Linked DNA regions of Homo sapiens: region 2 is linked to region 1. The links are contacts of gene promoters, found by promoter capture Hi-C in blood cells and fetal thymus (Javierre and others, 2016). All regions are on one chromosome and are shown on one strand. Each heading gives the region's core, a stretch centred on a gene start or on the middle of the fragment in contact. The rest is flanking DNA. Distances are from core to core; before and after follow the strand shown. Region 1 holds the start of OTP (orthopedia homeobox). Region 2 holds the start of LOC101929154 (a long non-coding RNA gene).

Region 1 (4,701 bases), core at 687-3,186:
AGGTCTCGGAATTCTCCTCCCAGGCAAAGCGTTTCTCAGAAGGGCTGCGGCCGCTTGCCAAAAACCCTAGCGGCTCCCAGACACGCCGCGAGCCTGAGTCCACGACCCCGGCGCCCAGTCCCACATAGGCCGCGTTGGTAGCAGCTGCAGCAGCCGCTGAAACCCAGTCCGGCCCGGAGCTTCCCGGGAAGCGGTCTCCGCAGCTCAGAAGAAACTGGTGTGGCCAATACCCTGCATTCACACGTGTGTGCATATGTGTGCGCGCGCACGTGTGTGTGCAGGAGAGGAGGCGAACGGGCTGCAGGAGGGAAGGAGGAAACAAAACTGCCCGAGAGTTCGCTTTGCCGCCTCCTTTGTCTCCTTGCTCGGTCCCTGTCACACATACAGCTGAGGACACACACACACACACACACACACACACACACACACACAATTCCTCTCGCATCTGCTCTCAGCCAGCATTTTCAATGTTTTGTCTAAGTCAATTGGACGGCGAACAAAAAAAGCCATTTGCTCAGTATTATTTAAAACAGACTTCATTGGGCCACCCTTTTGTGGAAGGTTTATTTGCACTAAATGAATAATCTTAATTGCATCACTCTCGAATTAAAAATCAATGTTAATCAAGTTGGGAGTAGTAAATATCAGTTTTCATTGTGACTGGGTAGAGGGCATTTTTCTTGTGTTGCAAATAAAAATACAAGTCAAATAACTTTAAAAGGGCATTATGTTCTGCTACAAATACAATTGAAACGGATTGTTTAGGAGCAGATCAGAAATGGTACAGAATTTTGCACTTAATTTCCTCAGTTATCATTTACAATAAGAACCTCTAGGCTTGACAGCCAAGTCTAAACAGTAGTAAATTAGTACAAATTTATACTGATTTTACTCTAATAATCGTAATAAAAGCTTATAGATTTGGCACTAATTACATAAATGCCTAATGATCTTGAAAATTACTCTGGTTAGAAATATATTACTAATCTAAACTTTGTTGTTGGCTGGCTCTGAAAAATCAGAACATTAGAAATGGTTCGCTTCACTTGTGCAAAGCACTTTAAATTGTTCAAGTAGTTTAACATATTCAAGAGGAAAATAAAGAGCATTTAACTTTATTTACAGCCTTAAGTGGAGTTGGGAGCCGAGCTGAACTTAGAAACTTTGACCAAAAGAGCGAGTTAGGGGCGAGGATGCGGGCGTGGGCCAAGCGGAAGAGCAGGAGCCGGGAAGAAGCCCGGTGAGAAGAGTGCAGAGCGCTCGAACCCACACTCCGCGAGGGTCCCCAAAGCAGACAGCGGGCGCTGGCGGTGCCAGGGAAGCCGACTCCTCTTTGCGCTCTAGGCCCACTGTGGGGTTGGGGCTCGTATAGACCCCAGGGCACAGCCAGGGCGCCTGGACCCTAGGCGCAGGCCTACTGAGCCGCGGCGAAGTCCAGGCGTTGTCTGAAGGCCGCGGTGTGCCCTCGTCGCGCCCTGGGCTGGCGGGCCAATATGAGCGGCAGGCCCAGAGAGCGCAGGTGGGGGCGACCCTCAGGTCACGCCAGGGTCATGGCCCGCTCTGACCCCTGCTCTGCCCCTGCCCTAGGAAGATGTTAGCTCAGAGGCACAGAGCTACGCCTTCGAAGCGCGCAGCGCCGGCCAAGGGGAAGGAAAGGGGAGCCTGGAGAAAATCGCAGGGAAGAACTAGAGGGAGCCGGGCCCAGAAGCTCAGGGCGAGGCCGAGGCGGCTGAGGCTGCTTTAGCTCCTGCTCCGGGCTGGAGCTGCCAGGGCTGCCGCCGCCGCCTCCTTCAGGCGGGCGCAGGCGAGCGGGCGGGCGGAGTGGGGGACTCTCCGGGCGCTGACATTTGCAGGCTGCCCTCCTGATTGGTCCCCTCGCCGAGCTGCTCACGGGTTCATTCAACTGTTAAGCACCTCCCCGTCTCTCTAAAGGACATTATAATGCAAGAAGCCCCCTTTTTAACCACAAACCGAATTTTCTTTCATTTAGGTGATCTATATATATCTATATCGTATAGCTTATAGCTTATATCTATTTTAAATAACTTAAAGCCGCTAAAATTTGGGGGGGAACAGCTTTCGCCCTGGAGCGGTGCGCGATGCTGTCTCATGCCGACCTCCTGGACGCCAGGCTAGGTGAGTGCGCGCCTCTCGCCCGGGCAGCCAGGAGAAGCCGGGGCAGGAAATTGTCAATTTGTTCCTTATTTTACCTTAATGCGACCTAAATGGACTAATTTCTTTAAAAGTAATTGTGCTGCATTAAAGTTTAATTTGATTTAACATCGCCTTTAAAAAAAAATCTATGGAATATGTAGATCCAAGAAAGGAGTTGGGGAATGTTGTTACTTTTTGTTTTTCTTATTTTTCTCTTCCCCCCTCCCCCGCCTTTTTTTTTTTTTCGAAAGGCGATATACCCCGTGATAATTTGTTAGGAGGTGTTTCTCTCTCTTTTTTCCCTCTCCTGTTTGTTTTGATTTGGGATTTCTTTCTCCTTCCCTCCCCCCGTTTCTCTCTCCCCACCATCTTCTTCTCTCCTCCTTTTCTAAGTGTGGTGTAATTTGTAAAAAATCTGGCATAAAGGAGAAGCTGCTGCCATCAAGGCGGATTTGCTAAGTGTGCTGGTTGAGAAGGAGAGAAGCCAAATTCAACCTCACAGTCATCCCCCCCTCTTCTGCAAGGGACTCAGCGTTGCCAATGGCTGTGAGGAATGCGCCTTTTATTTCTCTGGAAAGAAAAGTTGAAATCTCTAAAGTTTGATTCACGGTTGTCCATAGAGTTCACTCGAGTTTCCTTAATGCTATCTGGGTTGCTGAGCTCTGGGTTTCCGGATTGGGAATCTTCGGTGATGGATGTGACTCCATTTTCCAAACACTTTCTCTGATTTGAGGGGGAGGCGGAGCTGATTTGGGTTGATTTCGGGGGGTGAAAGCTTGGAGGCTTATTCATCTTCCGAAAGTAAGAGGGAATCGGCTGAGGGCCGGAGGTACAGTTCGTCAGGCTGCCGAAGCGCAGGTGCCGCAGCAACCGAGGAATTGTTTAATTTTCTTTCTGCCCCCCGCACCCCTGTGTCCAAAGATTTGCTCTCGATTTCCTGGGGCGCCTGGGGTACGGTTTATGGAAGGGATTCAGAGGCATGTTTTATTGCCGGGACTGGGAGTGTTTTATTGTGGGAGAGACGAAAGCTTGTGCTGTTTACTACGGGAGCCGGCTGCGGCGAGGGCAAGGGGCCGGGAGATATTATTCCAACCCGGCTGTCCAAATTCTGGGGAACCCAGCTGAATACCCTGGGAGTTTCTTCCTTAGGACAAGCGCGGGTGCGGAGGGGGCCGAGGACGGGTTGAAGGAAGGCTGCGCGGGGAAGACAGCCCCTCCTGGCATCGCCAAGAAAGTAGTGACCGCGATCCCCTTGCCTCCTCAGGTATGAAAGATGCCGCCGAGCTTCTGGGCCACCGGGAGGCGGTGAAGTGTAGGCTGGGCGTGGGGGGCTCCGACCCCGGGGGCCATCCGGGGGACCTGGCGCCCAACTCTGACCCAGTGGAGGGAGCCACTCTGCTGCCCGGGGAGGACATCACCACAGTGGGCTCTACTCCGGCCTCGCTGGCGGTGAGCGCCAAAGACCCGGACAAGCAGCCCGGGCCCCAGGGCGGCCCGAACCCCAGCCAAGCCGGCCAGCAGCAGGGCCAACAGAAGCAGAAGCGCCACCGGACGCGCTTCACCCCCGCACAGCTCAACGAGTTGGAGAGGAGCTTCGCCAAGACTCACTACCCCGACATCTTTATGCGTGAGGAGCTGGCACTGCGTATCGGGCTGACCGAGTCCCGAGTGCAGGTACGAGGGGCTTGGGATCTGGGACAGAAGGCAAGGACAGGGCGGGAGGATTTGGGCAAAGGGAGCAGGGTCTTCCCTTCCCCTGTCGAGATCCTGGGCTGCTTTCAGGCTGCCTGTGCGTTCCTGTATCGAGTTATCTCCTTCTCTACCCGGAAACTGGTCCCCATCGCCATCCCCCAATGGACACGCAAGGCCCGTCTCCGGCCAGTATAGCGACATCCCGGAAGAAGCTCCTCAAAATCGAAGCCCGGCGTTGTCGGGCTACAGGGTTCGCCTCCTCCGCCTGAGAAGGCAACCTCAGCGCCCCCCCGGGCGGCCCAGCCGAGCGCACACCTCAACTCCTGCTCGCATTATTGACAAATATTACCCCCTAATGAGTTTGTGTTAAGCGTTTGGATAAAAGGAGGAATGCAACAATTATACAGAAAACAAGAGAAAAGAGCAAATAAGGCGAATGAGCGCCTTTTAAAAAAGTGCTACACCCAGGTTTCACGGCGTGGCTTTATTACCTTAAGTATCACCCTCCCTCTGCACTCAGGCGAAATATTCCTAGCTTTGATGTTTGCAAGGGGTTTGAACTTTCGTAGTCTACCAGTGCGCTGGGGGCAGCTGACGAGATTCCCAAAGCCGGTGAGCCCCGTTTTGTTTTGGAGTCCTCTAAGGAAGCTACGGTGGGGGAGGGGAAATGAAGGCTTTCTGTTGTGGATATCATGTCTGAAGAAGGGGCATTCAGAACGGGAAAGGTTGACAGGCAGTAGAGGAAATCATTGCTGACCCCTTATTCTCCTCCAACCACTCTCCAAGCTGTAAATTATATATAACCTAGAAAATCACACCTATAATTATTCTGAAAATTGGTGAATAAAAGTATAA
Region 2 (4,701 bases), core at 1,123-3,622, 250 kb before region 1:
ATATTATGCAGTGTGACAAGTGCTGTGGAGAGCAAATGAAAGGCAAGGTTTCAGCACGAGCAAAGCTTACGTTACAAAGAGGGAGTGTTTTGAAATGGCCTTATGACAGAGCAAAGCACTATGCCAGGTGTAGTTGAACAACGAGGAACAAAGCCGTCCTAACAAACAGCACTGGTCCATCTGGGAGGGGGCGGGAAGGGAGCAGAGGGAGGCCACTCTTCTAAAGTGACTCTTTGCCAACAATTTAAAAGATATTATGCTGGATAATAGTTTTTACGACTCTGATGAATATTACAAGAAGCAGTGAGAGGTGGGATGTTAAAGCTCTGCAGAAGGAGATCTGGGGTGTCTCCTGCTTTTGAACTTCAAGATTGCCCCTCCTCTAGCTGACAGTTTTAGATACTGCCCCCAAGCTCCCCTCCTCCTAAACATTAGAAAATGGTCATACCTGGCCAGGCGCAGTGGCTCACATCTGTAATCCCAGCACCTTGGGAGGGCGAGGTGGGCAGATCATGAGGTCAGGAGTTTGAGACCAGCCTGGGCAACATGGTGAAACCCCGTCTCTACTAAACATACAAAAATTAGCAGGGTGTGGTGGCAGGCGCCTGGAATCCCAGCTACTTGGGAGGCTGAGGCAGGAGAATCACTTGAAACTGGAAGGCAGAGGTTGCAGTGAGCCGAGATTGCACCACTGCACTCTAGCCTGGGCAACAAGAGCAAAACTTCTTCTCAAAAGAAAAAAAAGAAAAGAAAAGAAAAAGGGAGAAAGAAAGAAAATGGTTACTACTTTTAGACAATGGAACTCAAGCCTAAAAGAAGTTAGATTTCTTTCTGGTCTACCAGTAAGTTTGGAAAAAGTTGAGAAAGATGTGTAAAGTAATAAGCATATTAACCAGGGATGGTTGTTATTTTTATTTGTAATATCCCTTTTCAAACAATGAGCCAAGAATGGCAATCACAATAGAAAAGACATCTCATGCACAGAAGACTAACTGGAGTTTTAGGCGGGAGACTGGAGAGTCATTGCTAGCTTGTATGAAGTAAGCAGGTGGTTTAATGAACTGTAGTATTTACTCCCAGAAATCTGGAATTTTCTTTGTTCTTATGCCTTATATTTCAAGAAAAGCTTTATTGCTATAGAGGAGGCAACAACGTTCAGTAGCATGAAGGCAGCCTGTGGCATTCCCTACCTCTAGGGGTCAAAGAGCCTAACACTGTAGATGGATTTAAAAGGTGGCTAGAAAATTCTGTGGCAAATATTAGCATTTGCTGTCATGCATGTTAAAAGACTGGTAATCAAATCTCATGCCTCAGAGAGTGAATGAATACTGCCAGGGTAAGCCTTCTTTCTCCCGCTCCTCCCTCCCCATGCTCCCGTCTCCACTACAGGAAACGTGACTGAGTTGATGGGAAGGGAAAATGCTCTTGCCATAGCTCATTGAAATCACACAATTCCCTGTGGCTCAGGACCTAGGAGGGGAATTGGGAGGTACAAAGAGAGGAAAGTCAGGTTTCTCAGCCCTGGGATTCTGGCTGCTGCCCTTGAAGTTTTTCTGGACTGACAAGACGTTGAGGTCTGCAGGAAAGACAAGGCTTGATGACAACCTCCTAAGTCTAGGTAAGTCCTAGGCTTTTTCTGGGGGAGACAGCCCTCCTGAGAGGTTGCAGCCCTCCCCCATATCATCTGGGATTTGGCCTCGCTGTTATCCCAACCACCTGGGGAGAAGAGAAGACTGGCCATCTTTGTTTTCTCCTTTCTCCCTTCCTTCCTCCTTTCTTCCCTTTTTCATCTTTGTCTTCCCTCTTCCTCCCTCTACAGGGAAGAAAGAACATCTGTTTCTCTTGCTCCTTCCCCTTAGAGGTTCCATAGGACCCCAGTGCCCATGAAGTCACTGGAAAAATCAGCTCTTTATTCCCCAGGCAAGAGGCTTGCTTAGGAAGCGTCTGGGCTGCAGGTCCTGTGTAGTGCCAAGGTCAGGTGTCCTCAGGACCTTGGCTCTCCTCATTCCAGCATCTTCTCCCTTGCCCTCTCTACTTGACCCTTCCCTAACACACAGAGGAGCTCTAATATTTTCCAACAGAAAACACAACCAGTCAGACATCCCCCGTGTGCCCATGAGCTCCTCCAACTGTTCTCTCTCTGCTTTCTGAGAGCCACATTTCTCACCAGGCTGACCACAGAATGCTGTTTCTTTCCTGTCTCCCATTCTCAGCTCAGTGGCTCCCTTCCTTTTCCACCCTCCGCCCTCTTCTCTCATCAGCATCAACAATTACCTCTATGTGGTCCCAGCTGCTTTTATCTCTCTTCGTGAGACAGACCTCTCTCCTTCCGGAGCATCCAATTTTTCTTTGCCTGTGACACCTCATTCTTCTGGGTTTCTCCATGACTCCTTCTTCTGTTCAGAGGTCTGGGCTCAGCCCTGGGACTCCTCTCCGTGTTTTCTCTCCCTAGGCAATCTCACCAGCCCACCACTTTCATACCACCTGTGCCGAGTTCTCCCAAGTGTGTATCTAAGCTCCTAACTCCTGTATCCAATGACATCCTCCTATTGGATGTCTCAGAGGCATCTCAATTGCAACCTGGCTGGACCTGAACTCTTCTGATCCCCCCAGATATCAGTAAACCAATTCAGACACCCTGAAACACGAGAGTACCCTTTCCCTTTCTCACTCTGTATATACAGTTGATCCGCATGTCCTAACAATTCTACTCCTAAAACATCTCACAGTTTCACTCATGTCTGTCAATTCACTGCCATTACCCAAGTCCAAGCCACCCACATCCTACACCAGGACCACTGCAATAGCCTCACAGCTGGTCTCCTCACTTCTACTTTTGCCCTCGTTACATTGAACCCATTCTTAAGTGGCACCCATTCTTCTATTTAGCAGTAGACAGATGTGTTAGGACCTAAGTTCGACCATATGATTTATCTGCTGAAAACTTATAAATGGCAATTGCAATTGGAATGCCTACAGGAAGTTGGTCCTGGCCAAGCTCCCATCACTTATGTGTCTCCAGTTTCCCTGTGGTGGCCCCTAACCTCATTTCAATTCTAAGCTCTCTCCCACCACAGGGCTTCCACAAGGTTGATCCCTCTGTCTGAAATGCTCCTTCTCCCACTTTTGGCCTGAATTCTACCAACTTTTCTCAGGTTTCAGTGTAGATAACACTTCTTCATGGAGACTTTCCCCAGCCTCCCAATCTAAATGAGATCCTCCAATTAGGCTGTCTCTTAGTTCCTCGTCTTTTCCTTCGTTTAATTCATTGTAACTTATAAATATTGTGTGTATTTAACTGTTGACTGCCTTGTGCCCATAGGTTCCATGATCAGGGATTATGCCTGTCTCACCATTACAGCCTGGGGCACAGGTCTGTGTCTGCCGCCTAGCAGTGCTCTGTCTTTAGTTAAAGAATGTGTACTAGTCAGGTCAGAACCACCTGCTGGACATCACATGAGAGAAAAATGGGAGGCTGTCCCTACAAATAAGAACCCTTAATAAATCATCTGAGCATTTTAGGTAGTGTTATTCTTTTCCTACCATACCATAAAATGAATTCTTATACCCTTCATAATTATCAAACTCAGATGACAAAGTTCCTGAAAACCAAGCTTTTCTCTTAATTATTAAATGTGCTACTATGTCCTCTCTGGGTGGACAGATTTGCAAGCACTTGAAAATGGTCAGCAGAGCAAGGTGGCTCATGCCTGTAATCCCAGCACTTTGGGAGGCCGAGGTGGGTAGATCATGAGGTCAGGAGTTCGAGACCAACTTGGCCAACATGATGAAACCTCGCCTCTACTGAAAATACAAAAATTAGCCAAGCATGGTGGCGCACACCTGTAATCTCAGCTACTTGGGAGGGTGAGGCAGGAGAATCGCTTGAACCCGGGAGACAGAGTTTGCAATGAGGTGAGATCTCACCGTTGCACTCCAGCCTGGGTGACGGAGCGAGACTCTGTCAAAAAAAAAAAAAGAAGAAAGAAAGAAAGAGAAAGAAAGGAAGGAAGGAAGGAAAGAAGGAAGGAAGGAAGGAAGGAAATGGGCTAGTGGATCAGCACTTGCTGAGCAACTATCACTGAGCTGCAGAGGCAGATTCTGCAAGGGCACAAGGCCTGGCCCAGCTCTTGGGGCATGATCAGCACAGGCAGAAAGGCAGAGTAAAGTCACATAAAACAATATGTACAAGACAAGTTGCGTCAGCCCCAAATCATGTAATATACACATCCTGCACAAATATCTGCAGTGCACAGTCATTGCCTTCCTGTGTGGGCTGGTGAGGTGGTATGTTAAAGAGCTAGGCACAAGTTGGGGCTCCAATCCTGTATTTGTGAAACTCTGGGCAAGCCACTTTATCTCTCTGGGCCTCAGCTTTCTCTTCTGTACAATGAAGATAATAATAGCTCCCCTTCCTGCTTCATAGAAAAGGGAAGGACAATCACCTTTTATTAAGTCTCTTCTTCATGTCAGGTCCTGTAATAGACATGTTAACATAAGGCTCCGGGCAGGGCGCAGTGGCTCATGCCTGGAACCCTAGCACTTTGGGAGGCTGAGACAGGAGGATCCTCTGAAGTCAGGAGTTTGAGACCAGCCTGGGCAACAAAGCGGAATGCCATTTCTAAAAAGAAAAAAAAAAGAAAAAGAAAAAACCCATAAGGCTCTCATCACACTCTTTCAACAATCCTGAGAAGCTGGCAT

Evidence for each region. Contacts are between HindIII fragments. The CHiCAGO score rates a contact against its expected background, and 5 or more counts as called.
Region 2: a fragment that was not itself captured here is called in contact with the fragment with the promoter of OTP in region 1 in 1 of 17 cell types (megakaryocytes); the score reaches 6.8 in megakaryocytes.

What each region holds. Positions count from the first base shown.
Region 1 is chr5:77,635,948-77,640,648 of GRCh38, reverse strand. It overlaps OTP (orthopedia homeobox), which reads left to right and starts at 1,936. Exons shown (of 3, transcript NM_032109.3): 1 at 1,936-2,136; 2 at 3,419-3,828. The coding sequence starts at 2,100. RefSeq lists enhancers at 839-1,393, 1,394-1,950. The HindIII fragment of the contact is 2,017 bases long and covers 915-2,931 here.
Region 2 is chr5:77,882,399-77,887,099 of GRCh38, reverse strand. It overlaps LOC101929154 (a long non-coding RNA gene), which reads right to left and starts at 2,444. Exons shown (of 2, transcript NR_105012.1): 1 at 2,275-2,444. The HindIII fragment of the contact is 2,488 bases long and covers 1,129-3,616 here.